7 separate regions of the Homo sapiens genome follow, and all the other regions are linked to region 2. The links are contacts of gene promoters, found by promoter capture Hi-C in blood cells and fetal thymus (Javierre and others, 2016). All regions are on one chromosome and are shown on one strand. The core of a region is centred on a gene start or on the middle of the fragment in contact, and the rest is flanking DNA. Distances in the headings are between cores, read along the strand shown. Region 1 overlaps SVOP (SV2 related protein). Region 2 holds the start of FICD (FIC domain protein adenylyltransferase). Region 3 overlaps SSH1 (slingshot protein phosphatase 1). Region 4 has its middle 71 kb from the start of WSCD2. Region 5 overlaps SSH1 (slingshot protein phosphatase 1). Region 6 has its middle 40 kb from the start of WSCD2. Region 7 overlaps SVOP (SV2 related protein).

Region 1 (2,700 bases), core at 189-2,688, 420 kb before region 2:
CAGCCCCAAATAATAGTAATAGCAACCGTGACAATAATAATAACTGCATTAACCCATACCAGGCACTGCACTAGGCACCTTGCCTGTATTATCCTGTTTAATCCTCTTAAGAGCCCTAAGAGGTAGGATCTCTTATCATTCACATTTTATGGAGAAGGAAATGAAAGCACAGAGAAGTCAAGTAATTGTACAGGGTCACACAACCAACATAATAAATGGTGGGGCCAGGATTTGAAGTCAGCTCTCTGGCTCCAGAGCCCCCACTCTTAAAGACCCCACATGCAACACTGTGTGGCTAGAAGCGAGTGCTCTGTTCCACCCTAACCAGCCACGCCTGGGTTTCCTGTCTCCCCCATCCCAGTGGCTGCCTGAAAGTGCAAGGTATGATGTGCTGTCAGGGAACCAGGAAAAGGCAATCGCCACCTTAAAGAGGATAGCAACTGAAAACGGAGCTCCCATGCCGCTGGGGAAACTCATCATCTCCAGACAGGTCAGTGCCTGGACCAATAGACTCTGCAATGTGCGTATCGGGGTGCATGCAGGGGAGTGTGTGCATATGGAGTAGGGCATGCATGCGAGGACACATGTGGGTATGTGTACCCAAGGTGGGGTGTGTGCGTGCACATGGAGCAGATGAGGGCCCAGTAGACAGGACCTGCAAGGGTAATTTGGCAACTCCAATCTGTATTTTCACTTCCAAGTTCTAAAAATGCTTCCTGGAGAATTTCACCAGTGATTAGAGAAAAGTAACCTCTGCTAATGGGTCCTGTAACTGCTCCTGCTTTGGTTTCGCCTTTCAGCACAGATGAAGTCTGACTAGCGAATGAGACTGATTGGCAAAAGCTGTGCAATAAAACCATATCAGGAAGGAGTGTGCTTAGATCTAGGGGATCAAACCGCACCCTGTGTAGGTGTTCTTAATGAATGGTGCCTCACTCCGCTGGTAACACCATCAGGGAGTCCACCACGGTGAAACTTAATGAGCACCTAGTATATGTAGGCACCAGCATTGCACACATGGGGAGAAAAGATTCGGATTTAAGGCTGCAGTCCCTGCCCTCAAGAACCATCCAAGCCGATTGAAGAAACATGACAAATACCTTAAGCAGACATCAGATCCTATAAAGAAATTACCTTTTAAAATAAAGTTATATTTCTGATTCTTTTTATATTATGCAAGAAGAACTGAATGGCATTTCACCAAGTTGGAAGGAGGTGTTTGGTCTGACAACATAGAGTCCAGGGGACCTGCCCCAAATCTACAGGGGCAGAGCAGGATGGATTCCTCAAGAGGTGCAGAAGCCTATTTGGTTGCCTTTGGGGAGAGATCCCTTCCATGGATGAGGGAAAGCCAGGCTGGTCTCGAACTCCTGGCTTCAAGTGATCAACCTGCCCCGGCCTCCCAAAGTGCTGGGATTACAGGCACGAACCACCACACCTGGCCATAGCATATATTTTTTAAAGAACATCGTAAAGCAAAGTTTGATAAATTTGTGAATTATGTAAAATTGGCCAATCGGTCATTTAGCTAATCAATCTTTTGGTAAATTGGCCTTTGGTGAATTAGTTTCTCAGCACATTAACTGTTGCCACCTAGACCTAGAACTGGGGAAGGCACATGTGTGTGTGTGAAATGGCTGGACATGCTTTGGACTGGTTTTCTGCTTGCTGTGTCCTTGGATCTGTGCTGAGGTCTGAGGGGCCAGGAAGGAGGGATCTGCTTCCCAAGTCCAGGTTTCCAGGTTGGAGGGCGTGAGATCCATCCTGTGGGGATCATGCCCCTGGACATGGCTGGGTTCTGGCTGGAGGGGCTGGGAGGCTGCGTCCTGTAGATTTGAGACCTGGGTTCTCAGAGCTCCAGTGTCCTACTTACTAGAAACCTTCCTCCCAGCCTGGTGTGCACTAGTCTCAGGCCACCAGCCCATCTCCCGTGCATCTGTAGGGGAGAGAATAAACACTATGTCCTTGTTTTGAAACAGGAAGACCGAGGCAAAATGAGGGACCTTTTCACACCCCATTTTAGATGGACAACTTTGCTGCTGTGGTTTATATGGTAAGAGCTGTTTGTTGACCACTTTGACCCCTTTCCACTCCCTGTGCCCTGTTTTGGGTTTTGTTTTAATGCAATGGACAGATAGCACTTTGATTTCAGGCAGCGTTTGCAAATTTCAGTAGTTCGAACATCATCCTCCTGATTTCCGTCATATCCAGGTTATCATCTGTACGTACTATCATTTCCTTCATCTTTTTCTTTAACTTGACTGCTTTTAATCACCGTGCAGGCTGGAGTGCAGTGGCGCTCTCCTAGCTTACTGCAGCCTTGAACTCCTGAACTCAAGCAATCCTCCCTCCTCAGCCTCCCCAAATTCTGGGATTACAGTTGTAAGCCGCTGAACCAGGCTTATAACTCTACTTTAAAAGAAAACACCTTAATTGCAAGTCACAGATAGAAGGCACTCTTAAAGAGAAATATCAGCAAAAGTAACTAGACGGAGGTTTGCAGAGGCAGTGAGCCTCTGTATTTAAGAGATAAGAAGGCTGGCTGGGCATGGTGGCTCATGCCCATAATCCCAACACTTTGGTAAGGTCAAGGTGGGAATATCTCTCGAGGCCAGCAGTTTGAGACCAGGCTGGGCAACACGGTAAAACCCTGTCTCTACAAAAAATGTTTAAATTAGCTGGGTGTGGAGGCATGCACCT
Region 2 (2,700 bases), core at 58-2,557:
GTGAGGGAACTGAGGTTCAGAGAGGTGAAGTCCCTTGCCGAAAGTCTCGCCGGGAGCAAGTGACAGCCTTAGGACTTGAACTCAGGAACCCCACGGCTCTAAAGTGTCCCCCCTTCCCATATATCCCTGTGGCTTCTGACCACAAACACTGGATTTGTGGACATATGTCAAACATTTGGGACATAAATGACTGACAGACACCCAGGCAGATCAGCCACAGCAGTTCTGACGCCCAATCTTTGATAAGCACAATTGTTGGGTGGCCTCATTTATTGCCCTCACCCTGATATTCAGCCACAGCTCCCACAGTGCCCTTCCCCTCTCTGGCCTTCCATTTCTGGCCTGTCCAGAAGGGACCCCATCAAGAAGATGAGCAGTTCGAGCATCTCGAAAGGAACTCAGGCTGTGGGCCACAGTGCTTGGCCTCAGTGACAACATGGCTTGTATGTGCTTGGGGCTGGCAGTGGGAGTGGAGGTGGGGCCAGGCATGCAAACACTATGCTAACAATAAGCACTTATTAAGCAACTATGGTGTCCTAGGTGCTGAGCAGTGTACTGGCCACGCATTGCCTCGTTTCACCCTCATGCCACCCTATGAAGGAAGAGCTACCGCTAGCTCCATTTTACAGACAAGGGAAACCAAGACACAGAGAGCATAAGTTAAATTCCAGAAGGCCCACAGGAGGTAAACAGAGGCATCCGGAAGGAAACCCCAGGGCCTCTGAACCCGGTCCCCAGGTCTCGATTTCTACCTTATTACTAAGCAGGGCCTGTGCACCTGCTCTGGGCTGGTCCTGACCCGGGAATGACTGATGGATCACGGGGTTCTGAGTCTCATGGGGATCCTGGCCCATTGCCACAGAACATGTGAAATGGCTTGGGGTGCGCTTTAATAGGGGTGCGCCTGGAGTGCTGCGCGGGTCCAGGGGTCTGGGCGGGCTTCCCGAGGGGACAGGCTCCTGGGCGGGGCGGTACAGGAAAGGGGGCAGTTCGCCGGTGCCAGGGGTGTGTGCAGGGAAGGAGTGCGTTCTGGGAGGCGCGAATCTCTCCCCCACACTTCCCTAGAAAGGGAGAACTGAGGCCCGGAGAGGGGAGGGGACCGGTCTGAGTCCCCTCCAAGACTGCAGAGCCTCCCTTCCCGAACCCCGCCCAGGGCTCGCGGCCCCGTCGCACCCTTCCCGGCTTCATCCTCTCGAGCCCCTAGGGCTTTTCCCCTTCTCACCGCGCGCAGCTGTCAGAACCCCAACCGCCTTCCCCGCGCTCCCAGCTCCGGGCCGCCGGCTCCCGGGTCCTCCTTCTCCGCCGGCCTCTGGCCCCGCCCCCGGCGACTTGCCATTGAACCGCCCGCAGCCCTCGTCGCGGCGGATTGGCTTTCCCCACTTGTCCTTCCCTCGCATTTCCGGGTTCCCGCGTCCGCGTCGGCTTCCCCGGGAAAGACGCGCCGTGGGCCACTCCCATTGGTTGTTGCTTGCGTTTGTCTCGTTCACGTAGCAGCCAATAAGCAGCGGGAGGGGCGGGGCCTAGGCCACAGGCAGGAGGAGCAGGTGCTGGAAACCCGATGGGCGTGCGGATTTGGGGCACACTAGGTGGCGGGCCCGGAAACTGGAAGTTCCACGGCGGTCTTTTCCTCGGGTCTCTTCGTCCCGGAGCCGCTGTCGTGTGCCTCATTTTTCCCGGTTGTGAAATGAAGATGCTGATGCTTTTCACCCCTTCACCCGGTTAGCCTGCTTGACTGCGCAGCCCCTGTTCTTAGCCTCCACCCCATGCTGCTGAGTTTGCCGCCTTCTTCTTCTTTACTCTTTTCCTCTCTGTGTCTTTTCCTCCCTGACTTAAACAACTTTTTTTTTTCTTATAAAATACAGGGTCTCGTTGTGTCGCCCAGGCTGGAGTGCGGTGGAGCAATTGCAGCTCACTGCAGCCTCCACCTCCTGGGCTCAAGCAATCCTCCCATCTCAGCCTCCCGAGTAGCTGGGACTACAGGTGCATGCCACCATGCCCGGCGAATTTTCTTTTCTTTTCTTTTCTTTCTTTCTTTCTTTTTTTTTCTCTCTCTCTGTCTTGCTTTCTTTCTTTTTTTTTGAGACGGAATCGCACTCTGTTGCCCAGGCTGGAGGGAAGTGGCACGATCTTGGCCCACTGCAACCTCCGCCTCCCAGGTTGAAGCGATTCTCCTGCCTCAGCCTCCCGAGTAGCTGGGATTACAGGCGCGCATCACCACGCCCGCCTAATTTGTGTATTTTTAGTAGAGATGGGGTTTCACCACGTTGGCCAGGCTGGTCTCGAACTCCTGACCTCAGAAGATTCGCCTGCCTCGGCCTCCCAAAGTGCTGGGATTACAGGCGTGAGCCATCGCGCCCGACCTATTTCTGATTTTTTATTTTCTTTAGAGACCGGGTCTCACTATGTCGCCCGGGCTGGTCTCGAACTCTTGACCTTAAGCTCTCCCTCCATCTCGGCTTCCCAAAGCGCTAAGATTACAGGCGCAAGCCACCCCCTCGGTTCTCCCTGACTTTTTAATTTGTATCCTCTCCAGAAGGACCTGGCTAGTTCTTTTGGCTTCCCAGAGAGAAATTTTTTCCTTGAAGCAGAGAATGGAAACCTCCATCTTAATCCACAAATACTGAAATTAAACATCTAGGGAGGTGCCCCAGAAACGCTAAGCATTTAGAAGTTAGCAGTTCAGATTCTGGGGAGTCAAAG
Region 3 (2,700 bases), core at 142-2,641, 290 kb before region 2:
ATCACGCCCCTGCACTCCAGCCCGGGCGATGGAGTGAGACTCTCTCTCAAACAAAAAAAAAAAAAAAAAAAAAAAAAAGAAGTAAAAGAGGGTGACTAAATAAAACATAGATTCTTAATATTGTTTCCCAGTCTGCTCCCCAAACCTCTTCAGTTAGTTTCTATATTAAAATGACTTTCTAGAACTTGTTTTCTTAAGAAATCTAAGCATCTAAGCTATTAGAATGTTGATGGGGGGATGGGTGGAAATGTAATTATTTAGAATGCAGGCAGATGTCTCTGTTGCATATTAAAGACTTTTTCTTCCAGCTGCTAAGCTTAATTGTGGGTCTTAGGTTCAATGTGGGTCATATGAACATATGTTCAGGGTTACCACGCTTCAGGAGCAGTTCTTAATTCTCTGGAGTTAATTGATGGGTTGTAAAATAACCCGTGAACCACCTGATTGGAAGAGTTATGAAGTAGTTTGTTGTTGTTTGTTTCTGCTGCTCTTTGGAAATAATGTGGGGTGTTCTGGCCACTCTTAGATTCAATCAGTGAATATGTCCCAAGGACTAGCTCCGTGTCCTGGCGGGCTGAATGTTTCAGGCTATATGCATTCCCCAGCCGCCTGTATGTGTAAGTGTGACTCCAAGAGTGAGCCCTTTACAAACTGCACTTCTCAGCCGGGCATGGTGGCTCACGCCTATAATCCCAGTACTTTGGGAGGCCGAGGCGGGCAGATCACTTGAGGCTAGGAATTCAAGACCAGCCTGTCCAACATTGTGAAACCCTGTCTCTCCTAAAAATAGAAAAATTAGCTGGGCGTGGTGGTGGGCGCCTGTGGTCCCAGCTGCTCGGGAGGCTGATGCAGGAGAATTGCTTGAACCCAGGAGGCGGAGATTGCATTGGGCCGAGAACGTGCCACTGCACTCTAGCCTGGGAGTGACAGAGCGAGACTCTGTCCCAAAAAGAAATAATCAACCAATCAATCATTGCCCTTCCCTTCCCGTATTTGAACCCCTTTGTCAGAGGAGAAAACCCTGCATCTCTTGTGCCTTCCCAGGCCTGACCCTGTCTTCTCCTCGCCCCAGGTCTGCCCTGCAGGTGCTTCACAAGGCCTGCGAAGTGGCCCGGAGGCACAACTACTTCCCCGGGGGTGTAGCTCTCATCTGGGCTACCTACTATGAGAGCTGCATCAGCTCCGAGCAGAGCTGCATCAACGAGTGGAACGCCATGCAGGACCTGGAGTCTACGCGGCCCGACTCCCCCGCGCTATTTGTGGACAAGTAAGTGAGGTGCCTCTGGTGTGAGCGCACCCAAGCCCACAGGCACCTGCCTCTCCCCCACCTGCCCTGTGCCCGACCCTGAACCTGCATTGGGCCACACCTCCCCTGGAGTCCCTTGAGTGAGAACCCTAGCTTTCTCAGAACCAGCGTTTAAAGCAGGGGTCTGTGACACAGGCCCCTGTCCCATGCAAAAAAAAGAAAAAAAAAAAAAAAATTACTGATGAATTTGGTGAATGCATTTCTGGGGACGGGGTCCGTAACTCCCATCAGACTCTCAAAGGAATGTGTGGCCCTTTGTGTCCCCAACTCCTTCCAGAGCTCTGTGGTCTGGCCTTTTCTCTTCAGATTACCAGAGACTTAATTCTCAGAGCCTCCCGCTCTGCTCTGAGGAGAGTTAGGAATGTGTCCTCTGCTTCCTTGGATCCAAAAACACAACTGGTGAGGGCAGCCTGCCTTAGCAGCAGCCATGGTGAACCACATGACCTGTGTCGTGTGACCTACGACAGCGCTGACATGGAGAGGCCACACTCGCTGAAGTCTAGTTAGGGAGAATGCTGGTCGCCCCTCCCCTCGGGGTCAGGACCCTGCTCCCACAGTGTGGTGTTCCTCCAGGACACTGCATTTTGGGAAGACTATGGATAAACCACAGTGTGTTCAGAGGGCAGAGACCTGAGGGATGGGAAGCCACATTAGGAGAGGGCCTTGAAATCACGGAGGAAGGGTAGTTGCCTTTGAATATTTGAAGATTCCTCATGGGGAAGAAGGATTATCCTGGTCTGTGTGTCCCCTAGAGTTAAAACCAGAGCAGGGAAATACCCAGATTTTGATTCTGAGGAAAAAGGGGATAATGGGATCTGCTGCAGCTGGGCCGGGCTGCCTCAGACAGTGAGGTCCTCATGCCCACACGTGTTCGAGCAGAGACTCAAGGGCCCAGGGGCCTGGGGATGTTGCGCTGGGCATCCCAGCATCCTGCCCTAAGAGCGTCTGAGCAAGGAGTTTCCACACTGTCCTCTCCCCGCTTGACCTGCTCCCTGCTCTGTTGACTCCCGTGGGAGTTCTAGAGCTGCAGCGGGTTTTCTGTGCACCTCTCCCTGCTGCCTGAGAACATGCACACCAAGAAGCGTGCTCTCCTTGCCAAGCCGTGTTCTGTTTAGACCCAGGAGCATCTGGCATTCCTGTAACCTCCGACCACAAGCTTTCTACAGCTCCTTGCTCTCCTAAACGTCATTTCTTTCCAGGCCCACTGAAGGGGAAAGGACCGAGCGCCTCATCAAAGCCAAGCTCCGAAGCATCATGATGAGCCAGGATCTAGAAAATGTGACTTCCAAAGAGGTAAGACAACTCCTCCCTTCATTGCAGGTCAGAGGTCATGCAGCCTCCATGTGTCCTGCTCCCGAAAGTGCAGCAAAAGCAGGCCCAACATCTGGTTGTCT
Region 4 (2,700 bases), core at 195-2,694, 460 kb after region 2:
CATCGTCAAGGACTAAAGAATGAAAAACTGCATCTATTCTGAGGTTTATTTGTTCTCTTTTTATGACACAAAAGTTAACTTGACTTCTTCTTACAGAGTTCAATGCCTAACACATCCAAATGCAGTCACTGTCTTTGGCCTAAAGCCTGATGCATAGTAAACATTCAATAAATTTTTGAATGAGGGGACCATATAGAATTAATAAGTGAATTAATAAAATAACATTAGGCATCATTTACTGAATAAATTGTATACCAAATTATAGTAGACTGTTTCAAAAATGGCTCTAATTATTCCCCTCCCTATAACTACACTCCTTTGCAATGTGATTTTGCATCCCCTCCCATTAAAAGATGGAGTCTGTTTTCCTGCCCCTGATTCTTGATTGGCTTTGTAACTTGTTTTAGTTGATAGGATGTGACAGCAGTGATTGGGTGTCATTTCCAATCCTAAACCTCAAAAGGCCCTGTGAGTGTTCCCTCACTGTCTTGGACCCCGTCACTTGCCAGCTGGAGGATAAAAATTAAATAGAGCAAGGAAAGATGGTCCAGCCAGGGCCATCCTAGATCAGCCAGCCCCAGCTGACCCAGCACTGATGGAAGCAGCACTGATGGAAGCCACACTGAGATCAACTGAGTCTAGAACTGCTTACATGAACACAGCCCAAATTGCTAACTCTCACTCAGCATTGTTGGCTTAAGACACGAAACGGTAGAGTTGTTTTCTTATTAACAGCAAAAGCTGACTATTACACAAGTACCGTGTCACATACGTAACATATTTAACCCATACAGCAATCCTCCAAAGTAGGTGTAATAGATACAGTTATCTGTCTTCCAAAATATGTTCTTTCCTTATTCTACACTAAGATAATTCTAGTTAGGACACTGTGACGCAGCTAAGGACTAAATTTCTGAGCTCCCCTTGCTGTTACGTGTGGTAATGTGAGTGTTTTCTTGCCAAGAATTGGCAGAGCGGAAATGACATTACAAATTCTACCTCAATTGCTTAAGAGAAAACCCCTAGCTTTGGAATTCTGCTATTTTCCCTTTCCTGGTGACTAGATGGGAATAACTAAAATGTCTGTGTGTTGGAGATAGCAAACCCCATCAGCCTGAATCCCTGAATATTCTTTGGAGGGGGCATGCCCTAGACTGTTACATGGGCGAGAAACAAACTTCCGACTTGTTGGAGCCTCTAATGCCACATAGCCTGTTTGTAATAGCAACTAGTATTATCCTAATGCAATAGAGATTTTAATCTCCATTTTACAGGGGAGAAAGAAGAGGCTCAGAGATGTGACATGACTGGTCTCTAAGCTGCACTTTTCAGCAGAGTAGCCACTTTACCCACATGTAGCTACTTAAATTAATTAAAATTAAATTAAATTAAAATCCAGTACTTCAATCACACTAACCACACGTCAAGTGTTCAACAGCCACATGTGGCTACTGGCTACCTTATTGTACAGCACAGGTATACTACATTTCCATCTGCACAGAACGCTCTATCAGATGGCATGGCAAAACCATGATCCTAACTGAAGTCTGAGTGACTTCGTGCTTTGCTTACCTGCCTGCCTCCTGCTATGCAGAATTATTATCAAGAGTTGCTCCCCTGGTGCACGTATGTGTTTGTTTACAGATCATTATTATCTATTTGTCAGAGAGGATGGAAGGAAGTGGAGACTTATAATTAAAGGATGATGGCAGCTGGTGAAAGGATCAATGAGAAAAAAGAAGTCATCTCTGAAACATTCACACTAAGTCATTAAGAATACCACTTGAGGCTGGGCGCGGTGGCTCATACCTGTAATCCAGCACTCTGGGAGGCCAAGACAGGCCTTGGGTTAGGAGGTTAGGAGATCGAGACCATCCTGGCTGACATGGTGAAACCCCGTCTCTACTAAAAATACAAAAAAAAAAAAAAAAAAAATTAGCCAGGTGTGGTGGTGGGCATCTGTAATCCCAGCTACTCGGGAGGCTGAGGCAGGAGAATGGTGTGAACCCAGGAGGCGGAGCTTGCAGTGAGCCAAGATCGCACCACTGCACTCCAGCCTAGGCAACAGAGCGAGACTCTATCAAAAAAAAAAAAATTCACTTGATTTGTCGAAGTTAGACATGAAACAATATAGGCACCTCTACCTCCACTCATTCCTTTAAAGCAGGGTGGCCCACCCTGGGCAAGATTAACTGCTCTTTCCTTGCAACTGCTAAGGAAGGGATTCACATTGATCTGTCTGAGATGGTTATGGTCAAAGAAAGCCTGTCGGTTTGCAGGGCTGTTGGGTGCTGCTGGATATATTCACCACACTGGTCTAGCTGGGTGAGATATCAGAATGAGGAGGATAGGGAGAGCAGCTCAAGAAAGAAAAACCCACGGGATAATGTCCCAAAGGGGAAACTGGGCATGGTGGTGTGGCCATGCAACATTATCTCACCTCTGTCTTCCAGCTACAGTCAGCCTCAAGCTGAGTATACAGGTCCTTCTTCTTTTGCCCCTCACTTGATTCTAAGGATAACCAGGATGGCAACTACATGCATGTGCTTTACAGATAGCTGTTGAGTACTTAACGGTGTGCCGGGCAGGGTTCTAGTCACTGTGGGGATGCAGCAGTGGAAAGGGTCCTTGCCTTCACAGGTGTAGTCTAGTTAGGGAGAAAGATAAGTGCACAGGACATTATGATAAAGGGTTTCCGAG
Region 5 (2,700 bases), core at 100-2,599, 310 kb before region 2:
AACTAACTGCGGCAGCTGCCCACGTCACCGTCACCGTTGGGTAAATGGATGCTGATTTGAAAGAAAGAGTCATCCTTCAGAATGTTGATTTGAATCGGAAGGGGGTCTTGTTGCTTGGGGTTGGTTCCTTGGGGCCAGTTGTTTGCCCTCACAATGTCGAATGCACACCCCGGTGCTTGTTTCTCCGGCCTACAGAAAAGCCCGTAGGAGTGCAGTGATTAGAGGAACCTCAGCTGTTTTGCTGAATGGCCCTCTTTCATCAGGATGTGCTGGGACAAGGGCCTTTTTCAGCCAAAATATCAGAGGAAGACAAGAGTTCCACAAGAGCCATTTGCTTTTCGGGTAGGACTCTGAGGAGGAGTTGGCTCCCCAGCCCTCGTGGAAGCACTCGGCAGCCTCCTGGCTTTTCCTGATCTCCATAGGGAGCAGATGGCCAGAGCTCGGAGGGCAGTTGTAGGGAGCGTTAGAGATGTGAGCACTGCAGCCACGAACCTCTTTTATTTTACCGACTTCTGCATCTTCCTTCAGCCAACCCACTGCTTCTGCTGTCCAGAGGTTTCCAGCTCAAATTAGTACGTATGACCACCCTGATTACTGGTTTCCTGCCATGGCTTGGTTTCTGGATGACACTGGCTGTTTATATTTTGGGGGCCTGGGGTTTTTTGAGGAGCATTGATTGAGGTTTTTTGTCTGTCTTCAATGCTTTGGAGAAACTTTAATCTTATGAAGCTTCCCGAATGGCAGTAATCAGTGTCCGAGAACAGATCTGTGTGGTGGAGATAAAAACATTCCAGTTGGCGGGTAGAGAGGGCAGCGGCTTTTTTTTTTTTTATCCCTCATCAAGATTTTTCTTACAGCGGTGGAGGAAGACATTTCCGTTTTGTCTGTCTGCGTCTGACCTTTTGTAACTTTAGTCACTCCTTTTAGGACACTCAGATCTTTTGTGAGAAGAGTGACTTCTGGGTGGCTGGGATGGATGGCTTGTGGGTTTGGGCTTCCTGGCCCCAGACACCTGGTAAAGTGAGCGTGCCATCACCAATGTGGATTTCTTCATGGACTTCCCCAGTGGGACACTTTGAGGGTCTGATGAATCGGGAGCCTGTGCCTCTGGGCATCAGAAGCTGCAGTCGTCAGATACAGTATTCAGGTCAGCCACGCAGAGGGCGCATGAGGCTCTGGGCCCAGAGTGAGCTCAGAAGAGAAGCCAGGAAGCCGGGTCACAGAGACTTTCTGCATCTTGTTTTCATAAATCCTGTGACTGACCATGCTCTGCGGCCTCCCACCCCACCCCCCACCCGGAGAGTCATGTCGTGCGGTTTCCTCTGGCTGTATCTCCTGACTGTATTTGCAGGACGCAGGGTGATCTCACAGCTTCGGGATAATGCGCTGCTACTTGGGCTTCCCTGCAGCTTCCAGTCTTGCTTTTTACAGTAAATGCCTGTTACTTGATTGTCGTGGGGGAACAGAGGCAGAGTGTTCCAGGGCCCCAATCAATGCCATCCTGACTTCATGCGTAGAGCAGGAGTCCCTGATTCTTATCAGTGTAGGAACATGGAGGAGGAACAGCTGGCCTTGTAAGTGATCACAGAGTGAAACCAGCCTAGTCTGTTGCATTGTTCCTTTTTTTTTCCAAAGGAAATATAAGGGAAACCAAGGGGAATTTTTGCTCATGGTTTCCAAGGCAAAGGTCATCGTTAATGGTTGGCTGTTTCCAGCGTGCTTGGGTTTCTGGTCAGTATGAATTTTTTTTTTTTAATCTCATGAACAAAAGCAGTTGATGTTGTCTCGAAAAGATTTTCCCAGCTGCTTCGATGAACTGATGGTTGTTTTAGGTTTCATGAGTTTGGAACCTCTCGCATAGCTGTTTCAGATTTTGATGAGAATAAATAGTAAATGATCTGTGTCTAAGAACAGTTCTGAAAACATACTCAGCTGTGAGATTCTAAGGAAGGAGAGAGTGACAAGCTTTGCAGGTGGAAAGGGTTAGGTGATTCTGCAGCCTGTGAAATGAGATCGGCCAGATGGATGCTAAAGAGCTTTTTACTTCCTATGAGTGAGGGTGAGACAGCAAAGAAAGGCTGCTTCTCGTTTCTTTCGTTATTTATAATCCTGAGCTCCTCAACACTTGAACCTTGCAGCACAAATATATGCCTGTGAGAGGGTGGAAAGGATGACTCGGCAGTGCATCTGCAGTAGTGGACAAAATGCTGTTAGATGTCAAGTATTGGTGTCACAAGATATCGAAAACCAATTGCCTGGAATTCAGAGGACTGAACAAGAAGGCAAAACTAAGTCTTCTTACTTAATATTTGAGCAGTCACTATTTTTAGCATGAGCATTTAACCAGAAAAACTAACAGATTTTATTGTGGACTTTATATCATAGAACATAACAGTCTTCCTGATCTCAGGAGCTGCTGATTGGAAATGCTAGTTCCTGTGGCATTTTCTTGGCACCCAGAGTCATACTTTAGACTTTGCTGAGTTTTTTATTCCAGAATTCGAACGTTTAACTACTAACATTAGATGTCTGGGGCAAAGGTGATCTTGCTTTCTTGTATTACAGAAAACATCTTCGTCTTTCTGTCAGGAATTGATTTACTTAATTTCAAGGTTCTCTTTAATTAGAAGACTGCTTTTTCTTAGGGATTTTTCCTTCAAATCATGTATATGTTCATTGGTTGTTCAAGAGCGAAATTTT
Region 6 (2,700 bases), core at 171-2,670, 430 kb after region 2:
GCAAGTACTGGCGAGTGGAGGGCCCTGCAGCCTGGATGCTGTTAACGCACTCTGGGGAAGGAAGGTTCTCCTTCCTGGCTTCAGTTTTAAGAGGCTCAACATTAAATTATGATGATATATGGCATGGAATTCTGCTGCCTTCTGGCCCCTGACAATTACATTTCTTCCAGGCACAACTCCAGAGAATCCATTTTGCTGTTCTCGGCAGAGTCTGGAGAGACCTGCAGGAAATTTGGTGCCCTCAGGAGCCACTTCTCACATCAGCCACTCAGAGACTTCCTATATAGTTTGACTACGTGGTGCTCCTCTCTGGGGTGCTGTCATTATTCTAAAGCCCAGAATTCAAAGGTTGTCACTGGACCCCAAGCTATCTGCCAAGACTCCCTCCCCTTCCTCTGCCAACATCATCACTTGGTACTTCATGGTATTACATGGTGCCTAGGGGATTCTGGAGTCAGACCAATGTGAGTTCAAAGCTTAGGTGTTACTCTATGAACTGGGTAAATTATTCAGTCTCTTTCAGCCTCCATATCTTTACCCGTAAAATGGATATTTATATAATTATGGAAAACAGGTAAATAATACTTCATAGGACTATGATAATTCTATGAGATTGTATCGGTTAGATGAACTACAATAATGCCACATAATAAATAACCATAAAACCTTAGGGATACATGAAAATTTGCAATTCAAAGAAGAAATATAAGCAGCCAATGCATGCACACATAAAAAGGCTTCATCACACTAGTAAACAAAGAAAGGCAAATAAAGAAAAAACAAGGTGTTAGTTTTCACCTATGTCCAATTGGCAATGTTTTAAAATACAGACTTTATGTTTTAGAACAGTTTTAGATTGACAGAAAATTTAATAAGATAGTTTGGAGTTCCCAGTCTTACCTATTAGTAACATCTTATCTTAATGTGATATATTTGTTTCAGCTAATGAACCAATATTGATAGAAAATTATTAACTAAAGTCTATATTTTATTCAAATATCCTTATGTTTTACCTAATGTCCTTTGTTTTGAGCCTAGAATCCCACCCAGGTAGCATTTACATATAGTTATCATGTCTCCTTACATTCCTCTTGACTATGATAGTTATGCACTTTCCTTGTTTTTTATTACCTTGAGAGTTTTGAGGAGCACTGGTCAGGTATTTTGTAGAATGTCCCTCTATTAGCTGATTTTTTTTAATGGATTGACTCAGGTTATGGGTCTGTGGGAGTAAGACCAGAGAGGTAACTGCAATTTTCATCACATTATATCAAGGGTACATACTAACAGCATGACTTATGACAATTGGTATTGGCCTTGATAACCTGGCTAAGGTAGTCTTTGTCAGGTATCTCCAGCCCACACTGAAAGAGTGAGGAGTTATGCTATCCCTCTTTGAGGGCAGAGCATCTAGGTAAATTGTTTGGAATTAGGCTGCATGACAGATTTGTCTCTTCTCCCCCATTCATTAAGCTATTCAGTCACTTATTTATATCAGTATACACTCAGAGATATATGATTTATACCTTGAGTTATAACTCAATTCTTTATTTATTTATCTTGTTCCAATTTTTCCAGCTTTGGCCATTGGAAGCTCTTTCACTTGGCTTCCGAGCTTCTTTGATATACACTCATTTGTTTTAGCACATCCTTGCAATCTGACACTATAAAAAGCTCCAGGCTCATCTTGTGCTTTTACTGCCCCAGTCATTGAAACAGCTATTTCTCCAAGTACCTCTGGTTCCTTTTATTAGAGAATGGTATTAGTAACCAAGATCTGGGCATTAGGTGTTCTTCTTGCTACAGGGGTGTCTTTGCTTCTAGGCCCTCTCAGCTGACATATTTTCTTATGATCTGTGAATACACTCACTAACCTGTGTAAATACACATATCTATAAATATTTCTGTATGTAACCATCTGTATCCATATTAAGCTAAACATTGAGTTCATACTGATGTCCCCAGCTCTGATTCATCGCCATATGGATCATCTAGCTTCCTGCCCTGGCTTATCTGTAAACTCCCACTCCAACAGTGAGAAACATGACTTTCACCAACTTATATCCATTTACTTAATTCTTCAACTCTAGTATACATGTATAGCAGTGTCAGAATTGTTAACCTGTATTCCTGTGGGAAACAACTTTATCAACTAGAGTACAGTCCTTATGTACAGTTCCTTCTGCCTTTTGTCTTGCAGACTCCATTTATTTCCAAAGTTATGCCAGCACCTCCCGTCACACTCCCTTCAATGTGGTTGCTTCAGGCATTTGTCATACAGTTAGATTCTTTGTCATAGTCTGCTTTCCCTCCTGGGATCCCAGCTCCTTAAATAATTTTTTTAAATTGCATTCATTAAGCTTCACTCTTTGTGCTTGAAAGTTCTATGGGTTTTGATAAATACTTAATGTCTTGCATTCACAATTACAGTATGATACAGAATTTCATTACTTTCTTAAAAATCCATTTGCTCCACCTACTCATCCCTATACCCTCTCTCTAAATCCCTAGCATCAACTGCTCATTTTACTCTCTCTTGAGTTTTGTCTTTCCCAGAATGGGTGATGATGTTTTCAAGTGCTAATATTTATTAAATAGTATCACTGAGATTATGAAGAAATAGGCCTCTGTTATGCTACATGTTGCAGTTTGCTCATTCATAGCCTAAATGTCTTTTTTTAAAAAAGGAAAAGGGGTGCC
Region 7 (2,700 bases), core at 68-2,567, 440 kb before region 2:
TCTACTAAAAATACAAAAATTTTCCGGGCTTGGTGGCGGGCACCTGTAGTCCCAGATACTTGGGAGGCTAAGGCAGGAGAATCGCTTGAACCTGGGAGGCAGAGGTTGCAGTGAGCCAAGATCGTACTGCTGCACTCCAGCCTGAATGACAGAGTGAGACTCTGACTCAAAAAAAAAAAAAAAAAAAAGAATTAAAAGCTGAGGTTGGACAGGTAGGCCAGGGCAAGCTTGTTAAAGGCCTAAAATGCCAGGCCAAAGGGATTCTATTGGTGATGAGGAGCCACTGAGAGTTCTTGAGCAGCGGAGGTACCTAGAAGTATGGATCTGGCTATGGCAGGTAGAACAGCTTGGAGGTAAGGAATCATTAGGAAAATTTTGCAAGAGGACCAGGGCGATCCCTTGTAGTGTATTCATTTATTCCACCAATATTTCTTGAGTACCTAGAAATGCTAGGTGCCAGGACGCAGCATTGAGCAAGAGCACCATGGTCCCTGTTCTAGGATGGGATCCTGGGGAATAGACTTTGAGATGGAGATTACTGTGCAGGTGGTTACTAGGATTAACACCTGTAAGAAAGTGAGAAAATTAGGACCAGCGAAGGGGGAAGCTGAGTTGCCATACCATTGCCACAGAGGCCTCTGGTCAGCTTACAGGGTTTCAGAAGCAGAGGTGGCCCTTCAGAGGTGTTTCAGATTGGGGCGGGGGGGCTAGGCCTTTTTACCCTCACACCAACCAGGCATCGGATGTGGGCTGCCCTCAAGGATGGAGCATGATCTTAGGCAAGGCAGCTACTTTTGGCCAAGGCAACTTCTGCAAGGGACTCAGCTCCTGGCAGGCAATGCTCCTGCTCATTTTGGAGGGAATAAAAGCCTCAGTCCTGAAGGGCAGACCAAGTAGCACATCACAGCATCCTCCACAGTCCAGGGTGGACCCACTTGCTTCAAATATAGTCATGCGTCACTTAATGATGGGGATGTGTTCCAAAAATGCATCAATAGGTGATTTTGTCACCGTGCAAACATCATAAACTGTCCTCACACAAAGCTAGATGGGACAACCTCCTACACAGCTAGGCTATACGGTATAGCCTATTGCTCCAGGGCTACACACCCGTACAGCATGTAGCTGTGCTAAATACTGCAGACAATTCGAACACAATGGTATTTGCATCTCTAAACACATTTAGACATAGAAAACCTACAGTAGAAACACAGTATTAAATTAAAAAAAAAAAAAGGCCAGGCATGGTACCTTACACCTGTAATCTCAGCACTTTGGGAGGCTGAGGCAGGAGGATCCCTTGAGCCCAGGAGTCTGAGATCAGCCTGGGCAACATAGCTAGACCCCCTCGCTATTAAAGAATAATGAAAATAGGCCAACTCTGGGTGCACTGCCTATGAGTTAGCCCTGCTCTGCACGAAGCAGTACTCTTCAATAAAAGATTGCAAAATAAATAAGTTAATTAATTACCACAGTATTATAATCTTATGGGACCACCATCATATATGTGGTCTGTTGTTGACTCAAATGTGTTATGCAGCCCATAATTGTAATCAGCTCACCCCGCCTAAGAACAGTTCCTCCAGGATTCTGGATAATCTCTTTTCTGCAAAAGTCTCACGGCTGCAATGGATGCCAATGGAGCTCACAGTTGAGTTCCTTGCAGAAGTTGCCTTGGCCAAAAGGCCAAATGTCTCCCACCTCTGCTTCCCATTCTAAATTCCTCTCAGCTTCAGCGAGCACTCTCGCTGATCTAGACGGTTTACCTGGGTGGGTGACTGAGATCTCATGCCTAAGGGATTCGAGTCCCTGGTCGCCATGCCTCTTTTAGGCCATAGCTGCTGCGCTTGTCCATTTAACACCAAAATTGAGCAGGAGATTACCAAGAGATGTCTGGTATATCACCTGGGTGGCCCTATGATAGATGGGGCTTATTAAGTCTTAATGGTGGTTAGGATCAATTTCTCTGACATGGGACCCAAGGAGCCCACGGTGACTCTTTTTCTTGCCTGTTCATTTCTTGACACAAAGGAGCCCAAAGTTACTGGGTAGCAGCTGTTGCTTAAAGTCTAATGGGTCCGGGCACGGTGGCTCACGTCTGTAATCCCAGCACTTTGGGAGGCCAAGGCAGGTGGATCATGTGAGGACAGGAGTTCGAGACCATCCTGGCCGACACAGTGAAATCCCGTCTCTACTAAAATTACAAAAATTAGCTGGGTGTGGTGACACACACCTGTAATCCCAGCTACTTGGGAGGCTGAGGCAGGAGAATCCCTTGAACCCAGGAGGCGGAGTTTGCAGTGAGCTGAGAGCGCGCCACTGCTATCCAGCCTCGGCGACAGAGCAAGACTCCATCTCAAAAAAGACATTCTACTGAGACTCTTGCTGTGTCTCCTGTGGAAGCTTTCCCTCCCTGGGAGCCAGGACCTCTAGACCCACCGAGCCCAGAAGTTGCAGGATGTGAAGTACAAATCCCCTGATCTGGGTCACTGAGACTGATGACAGTGAAGCCTACTCTTACTTCAACCCCTTAATTTCCAGACCCATGAATCTTTTCTCCTGGGAATGAAGCATCATAATGGCAATAGACTTAAGTGGGTATTGTGTCCTGGAGGACAGTGCCCCATGGTCACAGGGCATCGTCTCCAAGCTGACACCTTAGTGACACCTTCAGAGTCCTGTTCCATTGCTCTCTTAGGC

What was found. Contacts are between HindIII fragments. The CHiCAGO score rates a contact against its expected background, and 5 or more counts as called.
Region 1: a fragment that was not itself captured here is called in contact with the fragment with the promoter of FICD in region 2 in 1 of 17 cell types (neutrophils); the score reaches 6.5 in neutrophils.
Region 3: a contact is called between a fragment that was not itself captured here and the fragment with the promoter of FICD in region 2, in 4 of 17 cell types (neutrophils, fetal thymus, naive CD4 T cells and 1 more). The highest score is 8.6, in neutrophils.
Region 4: a fragment that was not itself captured here is called in contact with the fragment with the promoter of FICD in region 2 in 1 of 17 cell types (M2 macrophages); the score reaches 5.1 in M2 macrophages.
Region 5: a fragment that was not itself captured here is called in contact with the fragment with the promoter of FICD in region 2 in 1 of 17 cell types (neutrophils); the score reaches 6.2 in neutrophils.
Region 6: a contact is called between a fragment that was not itself captured here and the fragment with the promoter of FICD in region 2, in 1 of 17 cell types (M2 macrophages). The highest score is 5.0, in M2 macrophages.
Region 7: a contact is called between a fragment that was not itself captured here and the fragment with the promoter of FICD in region 2, in 1 of 17 cell types (neutrophils). The highest score is 7.0, in neutrophils.

The regions. Positions count from the first base shown.
Region 1 is chr12:108,936,617-108,939,316 of GRCh38, reverse strand. It overlaps SVOP (SV2 related protein), which reads left to right. Exons shown (of 16, transcript NM_018711.5): 9 at 362-490; 10 at 1,980-2,053. Among named protein-coding and RNA genes, the nearest start is that of DAO, 58 kb to the right of the region's middle. The HindIII fragment of the contact is 4,586 bases long and covers 1-2,700 here.
Region 2 is chr12:108,513,884-108,516,583 of GRCh38, reverse strand. It overlaps FICD (FIC domain protein adenylyltransferase), which reads right to left and starts at 1,307. Exons shown (of 3, transcript NM_007076.3): 1 at 1,223-1,307. RefSeq lists an enhancer at 1,776-1,835. The HindIII fragment of the contact is 9,938 bases long and covers 1-2,700 here.
Region 3 is chr12:108,806,200-108,808,899 of GRCh38, reverse strand. It overlaps SSH1 (slingshot protein phosphatase 1), which reads left to right. Exons shown (of 15, transcript NM_018984.4): 8 at 1,073-1,267; 9 at 2,506-2,599. The region is part of intron 1 of LOC101929204 (a long non-coding RNA gene); the gene reads right to left. Among named protein-coding and RNA genes, the nearest start is that of MIR619, 29 kb to the left of the region's middle. RefSeq lists an enhancer at 2,107-2,700. The HindIII fragment of the contact is 2,146 bases long and covers 319-2,464 here.
Region 4 is chr12:108,057,320-108,060,019 of GRCh38, reverse strand. No RefSeq gene overlaps it. Among named protein-coding and RNA genes, the nearest start is that of WSCD2, 71 kb to the left of the region's middle. The HindIII fragment of the contact is 6,167 bases long and covers 1-2,700 here.
Region 5 is chr12:108,825,135-108,827,834 of GRCh38, reverse strand. All of the region lies in intron 2 of SSH1 (slingshot protein phosphatase 1), which reads left to right. Among named protein-coding and RNA genes, the nearest start is that of MIR619, 11 kb to the left of the region's middle. RefSeq lists an enhancer at 1-175. The HindIII fragment of the contact is 1,236 bases long and covers 732-1,967 here.
Region 6 is chr12:108,087,593-108,090,292 of GRCh38, reverse strand. No RefSeq gene overlaps it. Among named protein-coding and RNA genes, the nearest start is that of WSCD2, 40 kb to the left of the region's middle. The HindIII fragment of the contact is 1,884 bases long and covers 479-2,362 here.
Region 7 is chr12:108,956,840-108,959,539 of GRCh38, reverse strand. All of the region lies in intron 6 of SVOP (SV2 related protein), which reads left to right. Among named protein-coding and RNA genes, the nearest start is that of SVOP, 63 kb to the left of the region's middle. The HindIII fragment of the contact is 2,176 bases long and covers 230-2,405 here.